5 separate regions of the Homo sapiens genome follow, and regions 2, 3, 4 and 5 are each linked to region 1. The links are contacts of gene promoters, found by promoter capture Hi-C in blood cells and fetal thymus (Javierre and others, 2016). All regions are on one chromosome and are shown on one strand. Each heading gives the region's core, a stretch centred on a gene start or on the middle of the fragment in contact. The rest is flanking DNA. Distances are from core to core; before and after follow the strand shown. Region 1 holds the start of CYB5R3 (cytochrome b5 reductase 3). Region 2 holds the start of LOC101927393 (a long non-coding RNA gene). Region 3 overlaps ARFGAP3 (ARF GTPase activating protein 3). Region 4 overlaps ARFGAP3 (ARF GTPase activating protein 3). Region 5 overlaps ARFGAP3 (ARF GTPase activating protein 3).

The links. Contacts are between HindIII fragments. The CHiCAGO score rates a contact against its expected background, and 5 or more counts as called.
Region 2: a fragment that was not itself captured here is called in contact with the fragment with the promoter of CYB5R3 in region 1 in 3 of 17 cell types (endothelial precursors, total B cells and megakaryocytes); the score reaches 6.5 in endothelial precursors.
Region 3: a contact is called between a fragment that was not itself captured here and the fragment with the promoter of CYB5R3 in region 1, in 1 of 17 cell types (endothelial precursors). The highest score is 10.2, in endothelial precursors.
Region 4: a contact is called between a fragment that was not itself captured here and the fragment with the promoter of CYB5R3 in region 1, in 5 of 17 cell types (endothelial precursors, M2 macrophages, erythroblasts and 2 more). The highest score is 8.5, in endothelial precursors.
Region 5: a fragment that was not itself captured here is called in contact with the fragment with the promoter of CYB5R3 in region 1 in 4 of 17 cell types (endothelial precursors, M2 macrophages, megakaryocytes and 1 more); the score reaches 8.4 in endothelial precursors.

What each region holds. Positions count from the first base shown.
Region 1 is chr22:42,647,972-42,650,883 of GRCh38, reverse strand. CYB5R3 (cytochrome b5 reductase 3) reads left to right here and starts at 1,492. Exons shown (of 9, transcript NM_000398.7): 1 at 1,492-1,589. The coding sequence starts at 1,569. RefSeq lists silencers at 1,012-1,111, 1,422-1,611, 1,632-1,981 and an enhancer at 504-1,317. The HindIII fragment of the contact is 5,222 bases long and covers 1-2,887 here.
Region 2 is chr22:42,869,354-42,872,265 of GRCh38, reverse strand. PACSIN2 (protein kinase C and casein kinase substrate in neurons 2) reads left to right here. Exons shown (of 11, transcript NM_001184970.3): 11 at 797-2,493. The coding sequence ends at 909. It overlaps LOC101927393 (a long non-coding RNA gene), which reads right to left and starts at 852. Exons shown (of 3, transcript XR_001755575.2): 1 at 763-852; 2 at 181-281. The HindIII fragment of the contact is 295 bases long and covers 1,294-1,588 here.
Region 3 is chr22:42,840,158-42,843,069 of GRCh38, reverse strand. It overlaps ARFGAP3 (ARF GTPase activating protein 3), which reads left to right. Exons shown (of 16, transcript NM_014570.5): 3 at 2,054-2,126. Among named protein-coding and RNA genes, the nearest start is that of ARFGAP3, 16 kb to the left of the region's middle. The HindIII fragment of the contact is 407 bases long and covers 1,259-1,665 here.
Region 4 is chr22:42,821,513-42,824,424 of GRCh38, reverse strand. It overlaps ARFGAP3 (ARF GTPase activating protein 3), which reads left to right. Exons shown (of 16, transcript NM_014570.5): 8 at 723-769; 9 at 2,016-2,155. Among named protein-coding and RNA genes, the nearest start is that of ARFGAP3, 34 kb to the left of the region's middle. The HindIII fragment of the contact is 1,160 bases long and covers 814-1,973 here.
Region 5 is chr22:42,796,991-42,799,902 of GRCh38, reverse strand. ARFGAP3 (ARF GTPase activating protein 3) reads left to right here. Exons shown (of 16, transcript NM_014570.5): 15 at 743-864; 16 at 2,298-2,912. The coding sequence ends at 2,315. Among named protein-coding and RNA genes, the nearest start is that of ARFGAP3, 59 kb to the left of the region's middle. RefSeq lists an enhancer at 66-360. The HindIII fragment of the contact is 2,814 bases long and covers 113-2,912 here.

The DNA of each region.
Region 1 (2,912 bases), core at 243-2,742:
TGGCTTGAACCCAGGAGTTCCGGACCAGCCTGGGCAACATAGTGAAACCCGTCTCTACAAAAAAATGCAAAAATGGCCGGGCGCGGTAGTTCCCACCTGTAATCCCGGCACTTTGGGAAGCCGAGGCAGGTGGATCACCTGAGGTCGGAAGTTCGAGACCAGCCTCACCAACATGTTGAAACACCGTCTCTACTAAAAATACAAAATTAGGCCGGGCGCGGTGGCTCACGCCTGTAATCCCAGCACTTTGGGAGGCCGAGGCGGGCGGATCACGAGGTCAGGAGATCGAGACCATCCTCGCTAACACGGTGAAACCCCGTCCCTACTGAAAATACAAAAAATTAGCCGGGCGCGGTGGGGTGCCTGTAGTGCCAGCTACTCGGGAGGCTGAGAATGGCGTGAACCCTGGAGGCGGAGCTTGCATTGAGCCGAAATGGCGCCACTGCATTCCAGCCTGGGGGACAGGGCGAGACTCTGTCTCAAAAAAAAAAAAAAAAAAAAAAAAAAAAAGATTAGCTGGTTAGCCAGATGTGGTGGCACATGCCTGTAATTTCGGGAGGCTGAGGCAGGAGGATCTGTTGAACCCTGGAGGCGGAGTTTGCGGTGAGCCGAGATCGCGTCAATGCATACCAGCCTGGGCAACAAGAGCGAAACTGCGTCTCAAAAAAAAAAACAATTAGCCGGACGTGGTGGCATGTGCCCAGCTACTCAGGAGGTTGAGGCAGGAGGAACACTTGAGCCTGGGAGGTTGAGGCTAAAGTGAGCTGTGATCAGGCTCCTGCATTCCAGTCTGGGCAAGAGTGAGACCCTGCTTTACCAAAAAAAAAAAAAAAAAAAAAGGTATTTATTGAGCACCTACTATATGCTAGGCTCTGTGTGGCTAGGCTCTGGGGATGTACGGGACTTCAAACCAGATAGGGCCTTGCCCTCCGGGAGCGCACAGTCCACTGGGATGGGGTGGGAGTGGGGGAAACACGCAGGAGGCCTTCAGCTAAGTGGGACAAAGATCACTCCACAGTGGGACAATGGCGTGGGGAGCGGAGGCGCCGCCGGCGAGGAGGCTCCGGGCGGGCCGTGCTGAGACCGCAGCATTTAACCCGGCCCGAGGCAGCTGGGAACAGTGCTGCCCAGGGAACTACAAATTCAAAGGCCCGGGGAAGGGCCGCGCTGAGCAGCTGCAGGCACAGGCCCAGGCCAGGCCAGGCAGGACCGGCCCCTGCAGTCTCGGAGGCCGGGGGAAGATTCCGCCTCTTATTCTCGCTCCCATCCGGGGGGCGCCATCTTGCTTCCTTTATGGCGGCGAACGAGGCCCAGAGAGGCCACCGTCCCGCGCGGGGCAGCACAGCGGCGGGAGAGCTCGGAGCGCAGAGGGCCGCATCCCCAGTTCCCAGTCTCCATCCCCGGCAGAAGCAGGCGGAGCGACCCGGTCCCCGCCCCCGCGCCCGCCCCGCCCCGCGCGCCCGCCTGGCCCCTCGGCCCCGCCCCTGCTCCGGAGTGACGCGGGCCCGGGCGCGACGGTCTCGGCGGCGGCGGCGGCGGCGACAGAGCGAGCGCGGCGCGGGGCCACCATGGGGGCCCAGCTCAGCACGGTAGGCGGGGAGGGGGCGCCGGGGCCGCGGGGCGTCGCGAGGGACTGGGACCCGGCGGCGAGGGGGCGGGCTGGCCTGCGGGAGGTGACGCGGGACCCGGGCCGCACCCGGCCGCACCCACTTCGCCCGCCCAGCCCGCCGCGCCCCACCCCACCCCACAAGGGCCTGGGCGAGCTACGTGGTGACCGCTACTTACGCCCTGGCAGTCTGCAGCGGGGACCCAGCCCTCCTGCCCGGGGGGCGCGCCAGAGCCCAGCACCCGGGGGCACCTGGGCCCTGCCCTGGCCGCCGTGGGGCCTTGGCTGCTGGAGGGACCCGTGGTTGTGAGCGTGTGTGCCGCTGAGTGTGAGTGTGTGAGCGAGCGTGTGAATGGCTTGAGAGTGAATGTGTGTGTGAGTGTGACCGTGGGTGTGAAGGGCGGGCATGGAAACGTGTGATGGGGTGTGTGTGTGTGTACGGGAGTATGTGAATGGGCGATGTCACTGACTGCGACTGAACGTGTGTGTGTGTGCGATGTCACTATGTCAGAGGGTTTTGCACGTTTAGCAACAAGGAACAGAACCCGGATGACACGGGGGCATCCTCCCAATGCTCAGTGGGCCAGGCTCCCATCAAGGCCAGGCTCCCACTGACCCTGCAAGCTGTGCTGGGGACCTCACACTTTGCGGTGTCAGTGCTGTTTGCCCCATTTCACAGATGGGGAAATGCAAACTAGTCTTGGCCACCGTCCCACAACGCTGCCGCCGGAAGGAGCCTGCTCCATGGGGTTTCAAAGTCCACTCTGCTGCTGTCACTCCTGGGCTGGCCTAGAGCCACCTTCCCTTCCCCCCAGGCCACCTCCTCTCCCCAGTTTCTCAAAAGTTGACCATGGTGAGGCTGGAGGCTTGAGTCTGTGTGGACATGTGGAGGCTGCGGCTGCAGAGGGCAGCTCTCCTGTCAACTGTGACCCGCTAGGCGTGGGGAGGCTGGCACAGGAGGAATCAGCCCAGTGCTCCTCCACCTCCACCTCTACCTCTATGCCTGGCATCTGCCACTTGGAGGGCACCTGGGTCCTCCCTCCTTGGGGAGGACCTGGAGTCTCCTCCTTGGGGATCCAGGCAAAAGGCCTCTTGGCTTGGGTGGTTGCTAAGGAAAGTGTGGCCCAACCCAGAACTTCGGGATGTTCAGACCCCAGGCAACCTTGGCCAGGGTGAACCTGTGGGCATCACCCCAACCTCCATGCAACACCCGGCCCATTTTTCCCCAGAAAGCATCTGCCTCCTTTATTGTTGAAATGTCCTGCCTGTGTCTCTAAAGCTTCCCCTGGTCTCCACCCAACCCTTC
Region 2 (2,912 bases), core at 192-2,691, 220 kb before region 1:
TGCCAGACCTGGGGCCCTACCCTAGTGCCACCTCCCCCTCACCACCCTAGTCTGCCTCCTTGAGACCAGGATCCATCAGTTCCTCTCATCTCTGTATCTCCTCTTCTACCCAAGGCCTGGCCAGAAGTAGGAGGTCCTTCAGGTTGGAACAACCAAAGATAAATGGAACCACGTTAATACATTAGAGCCACAGGGAGATTCCAGAACAGCGCCAGGGGCTCCTTCTCAGGGTCTCAGGAAGGGTTGACACATGGCACCGTGCACAAGTCATCAGCCAGGTGCTGGGGATAAAATGACAGGTATGACTGTCAGACATGGTCCCTTCCCCTCGCAGCCTGGAAGTTGCAGAGGAGAGGGATTAGCAAAGGCAGAGAGACCCCAGAGACAGCTGCTGGGAGCAAGGCGGCCGGGGCCCTGGGGAGGGGACAGAAGAGGCCCAACGTGAGGGAGGGGCACAACCGAGGGACGATTCCTGCCACCTGGCCAGGGTGGTGAGGAAGGCACAGCCCTATGGAGCTGGATGCCGCAGTCTCAGTGGGAGCCACTGTGGCAGCTGAGAGCAGCTTGTTCCAAATTACTGTGTGAGACTGTCATCTCTAGGTCTGTCAGAGGCCCATGACCAAAGAGGCAACTTAAAATGCATGCATTTAGTAGAGAAATGACCAGGCCCTCGGCCTGCCCGCCACAGAATGCCTGGCCCTCCACCCTCTGTGGGCTCAAAGCTCGTGAATGCGGCTCTGTAGCCCACCGTCGGTGTCATACCTCTCATGGAGACGGCTCCCTCTTTGTCTTGCAGGGGATGAGCTGACCAAGATGGAGGACGAGGATGAGCAGGGCTGGTGCAAGGGACGCTTGGACAACGGGCAAGTTGGCCTATACCCGGCAAATTATGTGGAGGCGATCCAGTGATGAGTCGGGGACAGGCCAGCGGGGGGACGGAGGCGGCGGGCCCAGGAGCCTCAGCCAGCCACGTGGGCATCCACTCCTTTTCCTGCAAGAGATGATGGTTCCATTGCTCTTGGCTTCATGGTGTTCCTGGAAGGCAGATGAGCTGGTCATTTCGCCTGGGACTCGGCACCTTTCCGAGTGCAGCTGGAGGGATCTGAGCGCAGGAAGACGCAGAACAACAGAAATAGCCGCCCCTCCCCGCCCACTGTGCCTGTTGGCCTATCATAGATCTCTATGTTCTTGACTTTGTCTCTCCTTTCCGAGTCAATGGTGGGTTACACTGATCTTGTTCCACTGATTACTCTCTCTGACGAGTCCATCACCTGCAACTTAAATGAACAAGCTTACATCCCATTTTGAGTGAAGATTTTGAGGTTTTTAATTTAAAGGCTGTGTACAGTTATACTTTTTTATACACCTGTTCATTTCTACTTAAATTATGGCACAGATTGATGCGCACCAGTCTTGAGGAAACGATCTCCCTATTCCCTTACCCTGTTACTCAGCCACGCCGTGTGTAGGCTTAGCCTCAGGTGGCAGATGTTTGAGGAAAGGAATTATGCCAGGAAGGTGGGACCGGGTTATGGTCGGGTTTCTATTGGGAATGCTCTTTGTGCTTTTGGGCATCTGAATGGAAGCTTTACATAGAACCTTAGGTAGAACTCCCCCAAATCGCCATATTTAAAAATTATTTTCACTCTATTCTTGCTTAAAACTGTACTCTTTTGCAAATTAACAATTTTATCACTGATTCAGAGTTAAAAAGAAGACTAACTTTTCAAGCAAATGCATCTGTAAAGATGCTTTAGATTAGACTGTCATGTCTCAGTGTCTATCTGTATATATTATTTGATATTCAGAGAATCTAAAGCACTCGTCTACTGTTTTAATGAGATTTAACAGCTTTTAACAGTGAGTTTCGTTTGTAAACTGCTTGAAGTCTGTGGCATTCAGGCACACGTCTGGCTGGCCGGCTGGGTCTCCTCCCGGGCTCAGTGGGCCTGGGGCCTCTCTGACGTGGTGCCTGCTGGAGGGAGGCTCGTCGTCACCAGCTGACTGCTGGTCCGGCTTCTGACCGGCCTTTGTCCTGGCTCCGTAGCAGAACACTGTAAAAGTGCCCGCGTCTTTGCAGTAGTTGCAGATTTCAGTCGTCGTGTTACTTGTGCACAAACAGAAGCTGGGTCTTACCCGCAGCACGAGTGTCTCGGGCTGCCCGGAGTCGCCCGGGAGCAGGTGCTGCAGCCAGAGTTACGCGGGGGCCACGCGGGCCGGCGGGGGTGGGGGGAACGTGGGGGAACCTGTGTTTCACGTGACTCAGCAGTGCCCGCCGCCGTCACCAGCTATGCATTCACTCCGTTTCCAGTGAGCAGATGTCTTGCTTGGAAAGTGGACCTGTGTCTGTGTCTGTCCTGAGAACTTACCAGCAGAAATCCTCATTTCTGTGCTACGGATTTACCAAAAATTGTCAAGTCTTTTTCAGTTTAACAGTTCCTTTACATGTGTAGTATTTGAGGAAAAAAATCAATAAACAGTTGATCTCGTGCATATGGAAGTCCCTTCGCCATCATCTGTCTTCATGCCCACTTCACTTGGCGGGGGTGGCCTCCCTGGGGCTTACTAGCTTTGGAGCTGGGCAAGATCCAGGGCACAGGACCCCTGCCCAAAAGGCCACGGCCCACTGCCCCTGCCAAACTGGAGGTTGGGGATTTGAGGCACCTGAGCCCCTTGGGGTTCCCTTCTCCCCGAGACCTGCTGCTGTTTGACCTGGGCTTCCACATGGTGCGGGCATCGGCTGGCGCCTCTCTATTGCCCCAGCCCAAACAGCAGGACAAGACTGACATCACCCATAACTCTCCTATGAGCACATTTTCCTGAGCACCTACTGTGTGCTCTCCACTTTTTACTTACATTATCTGCGTCTCCAAACATCTCCACAGGGTATGGGCAAGTCTCCCCATTTCCAT
Region 3 (2,912 bases), core at 213-2,712, 190 kb before region 1:
TGAGCTGTCCTTTCCTGGCCTTGGGTGTGTTCCTTACCTCTGAATGTCTTGCTTTCCTTCTCTTGAAAGTGAGGGTGAGAATACTAGGACCTGCCGTACAGGGTGTTGGCAGGAGCGAGCAAGAGAGCCCCATACAGCCTGGCACATAGTGAGCCCTAGAACATGTTGATGATGACCAGGGCAGAATCTGGGCTCCTGCTCGGTGGACACTGGGGAGAACCTTTTTATGATGTTGGCGTAGAAAGGCAACGCTTTTTATGACCTTATAGAGGTAATCAAACAAGTTATAAACAAAGGGCGGCTGGGAAATTACTGAGATTGTCTATAAGTAAAACTCTAGATTAATAATGGTATGCACTTTGGGAGGCTGAGATGAGGGGATTGCTTGAGGCCAGGAGTTCGAGACTAGCCTGGCGAACATGGCAAAACCCCGTCTCTACTAAAATTACGAAAATTAGCCAGGTGTGGTTCCGCACGCCTCTAATCCCAGCTACCTCTGGAGGCTGGGGCACAAGAATTGCTTGAATCCAGAAGGCAGAGATTACCATGAGCTGAGATCGCCTCACTGCACTCTAGCCTGGGCAACAGAACGAGGCTGTGTCTCAAAAAAAAAAAGGTATGGTTCACTGGGCATGGTGGCTCACACCTGTAATCCCAACACTGAGAGGCTGAGGTGGGAGGATTGCCTGAGCCCAGGAGTTCTAGACCATCTTGGGCAACATAACAAGACCCTATCTCTATTTAAAAAAAAAAAAAAAAAAAAAAGGCCAGGCACGGTGGCTCATGCCTGTAATCACAGTACTTTGGGAGGCCAAGGTGGGTGGATCACCTAAGGTCGGGAGTTTGAGACCAACCTGACCAACATGAAGAAACCCTGTCTCTGCTAAAAATACAAAAATTAGCCGGGCGTAGTGACACCTGCCTGTTATCCCAGCTACCCAGGAGGCTGAGGCAGGAGAATCACTTGAACCCAGGAGGCAGAGGTTGCGGTGAGTCAAGATCGCACCATTGCACTCCAGCCGGGGCAACTCCGTCTCAAAAAAAAAAAAAAAAAAAAAGCCCGGCATGGTAGCTACCATCTACTTGGGAGGTTGAGACAGGAGGATTGCTTGAGCAATCCTGGTTGAGGCTGCAATGAGCTGTGATCACACCACTCCATTCCTGGGTGATGGAGTGAGACCCTGTCTCAAAAAAAAAAAAAAAAGAAATTAGTAAATATAAGGGCAGCACAAAGGAAAGTTTTGGTGGACCTAAAGCTTCTTTTCTTTTCTTTCTTCCTTGCCCATTTTGTAAAAGGTATTCTGCCTATACTCATTCTAAAATATCCACATTCCTTTACAGTTAGTGTAGGGCAAGCTATTACTGAATAACAACCTCTGCTTTTTGCTCATTTCTGTGGATTCAGTATAAAGATTCTAACATTGTTGCTTTACCGTCGACCCCTTGGGGAATGTGCATTGTTGAGGCTATACTCACTGCCTTTACTTGTTTCAGATTTGATCTTACAGTGGAGAGAAGTTAGGCATAAGGTGTGGAAGGGGCAGGAAGTGCTTGTAGCTTTCACTTCAGGAGCATGAAATCTTGTGTTTTTTCCTCTCTCTGCTGGTCGTGATGTTGGGTAGGTCTCTTCTACCTTGTGATAAGAGAATGAGCATCCTCCAAGCTTCTGGTAGCGATCAAACTGGACAAGTAGATCACCGACCTGAAAACATCCAAACAGTGCATCTGTTTCAAGTAGAGACACATTACCAAATTTCAAATCATATCCAACCAAGGATGGGAGGCAAAGAGTTGGTGTCGTTCCAGCAGCCCGCTGACACTTGTCATGTCCCTGTGCCCTGCATTCCAGGAAGGACGAGAGGAGCCAGGGGTTGCTCACGCCAACCATCATCCACTCTGGAGTCCTAGCATCCCAAAAGTGTGGGTCCTTGTTGACACAAACTTAGAATTCTTTAGGATCCTAAAGCCTAAGGAAACCTTGTTCTCAAAAGCTCACTGATTTTGCTCCTGGGGATAAAAAATATTAACAGTTAGTAATATTCTTTCCATTTAGATCTACAGAGTTGGATTCCAACTGGTCATGGTTTCAGTTGCGATGCATGCAAGTCGGAGGAAACGCTAGTGCAGTAAGTTCATCTCAAACTCGTCATTTTCCTTCTTGTTTAAATATTTGTTATGCTATAATAGTAAAGAAGCTCAGGCTAGGTGCAGTGGCTCATGCCTGTAATCTCAGCCATTTGGGAGGCTGAAATTACAGGCGTTTGGGAGGATCACTGGAGCCCAGGAGTTCAAGACCACCCTGGGCAACATGGCAAGACCCTCTGTTTATAAAAAACAAACAAGTCAGGTGTGGTGTCTCACGCCTGTAATCCCAACACTTTGGGAGGCTGAGGCGGGCGGATCACTTGAGGTCAAGAGTTCGAGACCAGCCTGGCCAACATGGTGGAACCCCATCTCTACTAAAAAAAAAATAATAATAACAAAAATTAGCTGGGTATGGTGGTGCACACCTGTAATCCCAGCTACTCGGGAGGCTGAGGCGGGAGAGTTGCATGAACCTGGGAGGCAGAGGTTGCAGTGAGCCGAGATCACACCACTGCACTCCAGCCTGGGTGACAGAGCGAGACTCCATCCCAAAAAAACAAACAAACAAACAAAAAGAGTTCAATACTTGAAAGTTTGGGAGGCCCTATGAGAAGAAGCAGAGAGCCTGATGGGTTTTGGAGTTGGACAGACCCAGTTGACTTGTTTATTCAAAAATCTGTTAAACACCTAATAAACAGGAAGCGTTGGCTAGCTGCTGGGGATATAGTGACAGACAAGACAAACAAGATCCCCAGCTGGGCACGGTGGCTCATGCTTGTAATCCTAGAACTTTGGGAGGCTGAGGCAGGCAGATCGCCTTGAGCCCA
Region 4 (2,912 bases), core at 144-2,643, 170 kb before region 1:
TGATCACACTACTACACTCCAGCCTAGGTAATGGAGTGAGACCATCTCTAAAAAATTGTTAGATTTTTAAGTGTTTTAAAGTTTTTGAAGAGTAGCACTTGATAAAAGAGTTGTGGCATGGTGGCTCATACTCATAATTTCAGCACTTTGAGAGGCTGAGGCAGGAGCATCACTTGAGCCCAGGAGTCCAAGACCAGTCTGGGCAACATAGCAAGACACCCATCTCTAAAAAAAAAAAAAAAAAAAAAAAAAAATAGCCAGATGTGGTGGTGCGCACCTGTGATCCCAACTACTCAGGAGGCTGAAGTGGAAGGCTCCCTTGATCTGGGAGGTAATGCCACTGCACTCAGCTAAGGTGACAGAGCGAGACCCTGTCTCAAAAAAAAAAAAAAAGTTGTTGTAATATATTTTTTAAATGCTCCTGAAGAAAGTACTGAGAGGGGCAAGCTCAGGCTCTATTTCTCTTCAGTGTGCTGTTAAAAAAAAAAATACATTTTCTCTGAGTTTGGAGACTGCGTGGAAATACTGAGGACACCATTTTGACAAAGTTCTGTTAATCCAAAATATGCTTATCAACTTGAGTCTTCTGGATGAGAAACTAAAGTGGAAAATGTTATCATCTCTTAAATAATAAAGTGCAGTATCTTAGAATTTTAAAAGACACACTAAAAAAGAAAAATTATTTCTATTGGTCTTACTTTTTAATTTTTATTTTTTGGCAGAGGTATCCTCTATCATAAAAAAGAAACCAAATCAAGCTAAAAAAGGCGTGAGTATTATGTACTTTATATATAAAAATCTGGTAGTTAAGCTTTAAAACTAAAAAGCCGCTTCGTCATTTTAGTTTTATTCTTTTGAACCATCTTGTAATAAATGTAGCTTTGATATAAGGAGTCTATGTTTTGTTCAAAGAGATTAATGTCAAAGAGATTAATGTTATACTTATTGAATTTTTTCTAGAATGATTATTTAACATTTTTTCTGTCTATGACAAAATTCTGAAAAAAATTAACAAAGGTCCCCTGGGAATTTGTCTCCTGCTTGTGTAGATCAATAAGCAATGACATCTTGTGAGGCTTAGAGGGTGGTTGTCTGGTGAGTTTTCAGATACAGCGAAGCATTGCGGAGCACCAGCTCTGGAGGCAGGTGCAGGGTTTGAATCCTGGCCTTGCCATGTATTGGCTGTGTGACCTTGGCCACATTCCTTAACTTATATGAGCTTTACTTTCCTCAGCCCTCTGTATCCAGGGGTTCTGCATCCATGGATTCAACCAATTGCAGATCAAAATTATTTGGGGGGGAAAAAAAAACAATAGGCCAGGCGTAGTGACTCACGCCTGTAATCCCAGCACTTTGGGAGGCCGAGGCAGGTGGATCACTTGAGCCCCGGAGTTCAAGACCAGCCTGGGCAAAATGGTGAAATCCCATCTCTTCAAAAAATACAAAAAGTAGCCGGATTTGGTGGCCCGTGCCTGTAGTCCCAGCTACTCGGGATACTAAGGTGGGAGGATCGCTTTACCCCAGGAGGCAGAGGTTGCAGTGAGCTGAGATTGTGCCACTGTACTCCAGCTTGGTCAACAGCATGAGAGCCTGTCTCAAAAAAAGTAAAAAAAAATAAAAAGTAAGAATACAACAGTAAAAACAATACAAATAAAAACACAGAATTAGTAACTATTTTCATAGCATTTACATTATTTAGGCATAATAAGTAATCTAGAGATGATTGAAAGTATACTGGAGGCTACACGTGGGTTAAATGCAGATACTACGCCCTTTTACGTAAGGGACTTGATCATCGCAGATTTTGTTATCCACAGGGTCGTGAAACCAATTCCCCCATGCTGAGGGACTCCTGGAATAATACTAACTTCACAGAGTTCTGAGGACTAAGCCACAGAACAAATGTAGAGTGCTTGTCACAGTGCCTGGCAGGTCCTAACCCTTAGGAAATGTTAGCTGTAGTCACAGAAGCTTTCAAACAGCTCGTGTAGACTATAGTCTTATATATGTTCTAGCTTGGGGCCAAAAAAGGAAGTTTGGGAGCTCAGAAACTGGCAAACACATGCTTTAATGAAATTGAAAAACAAGCTCAAGCTGCGGATAAAATGAAGGAGCAGGAAGACCTGGCCAAGGTGGTATCTAAAGAAGAATCAATGTAAGTTTAATTTCATTATATTAATACATTTTCAGGGAATAAAACTATTAACTCAAGATTTTGCTTTCCAAATGCCATGTATTTTTGTGTGGGGGGGGAAGGGAGGGTACTGCAAAATTCAGTTTTATGAAAACTGATATTGCATTGGCATGTGGATTGGAAGGGAAAGAGACGATGGGGGCAGCAACACTCTGCTGAGGCTGTAAGGGCAAGACTGGAGTGACATCAGTGAGAAGGGAAAGACAGAGATGCATGGAGGTGTTTACACATGAAACATGCTTCACATTATTAGAGTTGGGGAAATGCAAATCAAGGCCACAATAAGATACCACTGTGTACTCTCTAGGGAAGCTATAATAAAAAAATCAGTAACAGGTGTTGGCTAGGATGTGGAGAAATTTGAACCCTTGTACATTGCTGATGGCAATGTGAAATGGTGCCACTGTTGTGAAAAACAGTTTGGCAGTCCTTCAGAAAGTTAAATGTAAAGTTTCCATGTGACCCAGCAAATCTACTCCTAAGTATATACTCAAGAGAAATTAAAACTTACATCTGTGCAACCACACACAAACTCGTGCATGAATGTTCATAGTGGCGTTAATCCTAATAGCCAAAAAGTAGAAATAAGCTAAATGTCTACCAACTGATAAATGAGAAAGAAAATGTGGTATGTCCATACAATGGACTATTACTCAGCCACAAAAAGGAATGTAGTCCTGATATTGGCCACAACATGGATAAACCTTGAAAAGTTTAT
Region 5 (2,912 bases), core at 270-2,769, 150 kb before region 1:
GTGAACTTCTGTACCTGGGAAGACTGGCAGTGGAGCTTGGCTTCTAAGTCACAGTCAGACAGCATCAGTGATGCATCTATTTGGCTCACCTCCTTGGGGGAGGTAACAAGCTTCCTCCATACCCCAAGCGAGTGGGAGGGGCAGTCGTAGTCACAGATGGCTGCTGCTTTGCTTTGTCCCTGCCAATAACCCCAGAGCAAGCAAATGGCTCTTCTCATTTGAGGATACATGAATCCCTGGGAAGGCTCTGATTGGTCAGGCCTGGGTCATGTGCCCATGCCTGTGGACAGGGTAGAAGGGAGAGGTGGTTCCTGGAGGAAGGGAGGAGTACTGTTACCAAAAGAGGGAGGAGGTGATGAGAAACAGGCCATCCGTGTTGGCCCATCTGCCTTTTGCTGGGTACTTACCTGCCAGGGCTATGTTAAGCACCTTGAGGAAATGGGCCCAGAGAGAGCAAGGAACTTCTCTAGAGGCACACAGCCTAGAAGTGACAGTGCCAGGATTTGAACTCATAGTGGTGTTAAGTCCCCCATACTACATTTTCTGTCGTGTGGATTCTCTCATGTGGATCATGGCAGGGCTGCCACTTCAGCCCGAGTCTCCATCCCACTGTTGGGCCCCTTGTGAGGCAGCAGGAGGGGAGAGATCCGGGTTCTCTGGAGCCGTTGAGCACTCTGGGTACTGGGTTTGCCGCAGCTGTGGCCAGGGCAGTGATGAGACAGTGTCTGCTGTGTGTGTGCAGGGAACTACAGCCTGTCCAGTGTGCTGCCCAACGCCCCCGACATGGCGCAGTTCAAGCAGGGAGTGAGATCGGTTGCTGGAAAACTCTCCGTCTTTGCTAATGGAGTCGTGACTTCAATTCAGGTCAGTGGAATGGGGCAGTGCTCACTGGCTATGACGGTAGGTTCAGCAGTTTGAAAATGAGACCTGCTTCAATCTTCAACTGCTGGAAAATTCAATTATATATTATTGGATCGATATGTTTGCTACACTATAACCCAGAACATTATGAAAACCAGAAATTATAATTTTATATTTAATATTTTCTAACGGATGACTCTAGGGGAATTGTTAGAGGAATTGTCATGACCATTGTCCAGTTTTTTTCCTAGATTGGAACAGAGAAGTATTAAGAAGAAAACTGAAATTATCTGTAATGCCACATCACAGGGATAACCTCTGTTAATATTTTGGTATATTTTTAGCTCTAGATTTCTAAGGATATTTTTCTATACGTAGATTAAAAAGATATACATATCTATCTTTTTAAAGTTAAAAAGGGATTATATTGTATAGAGGGTTTTATATCTTGCTTTTTCTCTGTGATGCTGGGAGCATTTCCTTGTAATGAAAAGTTTTCCTAAAACCACATTCTATTGAGTGAAAACATAAGCCAAGGATGGCGCATACTTGCGCATGAGAGTCGAGGCCATCTGTGACGATATGAGTGGCTCGTTTCTTTGCACCTTCTTGTTTACGTCAGGCTATTGAAGAAGGATTGTATTAATGTAAAACGCTGCTAAAGGAAGTAGGACTGAAACCGTGTGGACTCTGGTGCCTCCAAAGGAGATTCCTGGTCCCCAGGCAGATGCTGCTCTAGCTGCAGTTCAAGGAGGGCGTGGAGGTGCACCCATTCCGGAGAGTTCCCTCAGCCCCAGGACTCTGGATGTAGCCGTTTTCATGCTGTGAATAGCACAGTCTTCCCTTTCATGTGGCACTGAAGTTAAAATGCATAGAGCTCTTTCATGTCCCTTAGGTCAGCTAAGCCCACATCAGTGTCCAAATAGGTAACATCCCTATTTTATAGATGGTCATCCCCATTTTAGAGATGGCTCCCTTTTATATCCCCATTTTACAGGTGAAGGAATTGAGGCACAGAAGGTTAGGTCACTTCTGCAAGATGACCAGCTGAACCAAAATTTCAGGGCTTCAAACACCAAATGTGTTCCTTTGTCTTCCGTTTCCCACTTGCTTCCCAGAGGGCTCAGCAAGTTGCCTCTGGCCCACTGAGCATCCTCCCGCCCACTTTGCTCCCTGCCTCCTGATCCCAGGACTGTGGCCGTGGATGCCAGAGGCAGGATGTGAATCCTGTTGGGTTCTGAAGCCCACACCTACCCTCAGCCTTGAAGCTGCAGCAATGGCTGCTTCCAGATGAGCACACCCTCGGGGTGCAGCGTCCATGTCACATGCCTGACATGGGCTGCAGTGTCAATTTGGGTGATGCTGAATATTCAGGGCGTGGGAGTCAGGGATCGCTGCTGAATGGTCGTGAACTTCCATTTTGGTTCTCTCTTCAGGATCGCTACGGTTCTTAATACTGAAGTCATGATGTGTATTTCCTGGAGAAATTCCTCTTTAAATGAACAAGTAACCACATCTCAGGCGGCAGTGAAGTCCAGATAGTTTTGCAGATTGTTTTGCTACTTTTTCATATGGTATATGTTTCTGATTTTTAATATTTCTTTTGAGAAATTCTGAGTTCTGATGTAGGAGCTTTCCTGTGATTTCTGTTTCACGTTCCTTCCTGTCACACCCTCCTTTGGCGTCTCTGTGTATATCCTTGCTTTATTTTCTTGGAACCTTTGATTTCAACACTGAGGGCCTGGAGACCTCGGCTCCTCCTGCTCCTGAACCAGGAGGCTTCATGTGGGGGAGGAGGAGAGGTCTCCATGTGACACATGGGCTCAGGGCTGCCAGAATCAGCGGATGCTGGATGGGCCTGCAGAAACAACACTCACCACACACACTTCCTTCAAAAGACCAAAAGTGACTGGTGTCTCGTGTGACAGATTGCTTCATTTATGTTTCTACATAGTAAGGTGACTGCCAAATAATATTTGAAGTCATCTGTCTCTTTGTAAATTATTTTATATGACCTATAAATTTAAAAATGTTTTTCAGTGAGTGCTTTT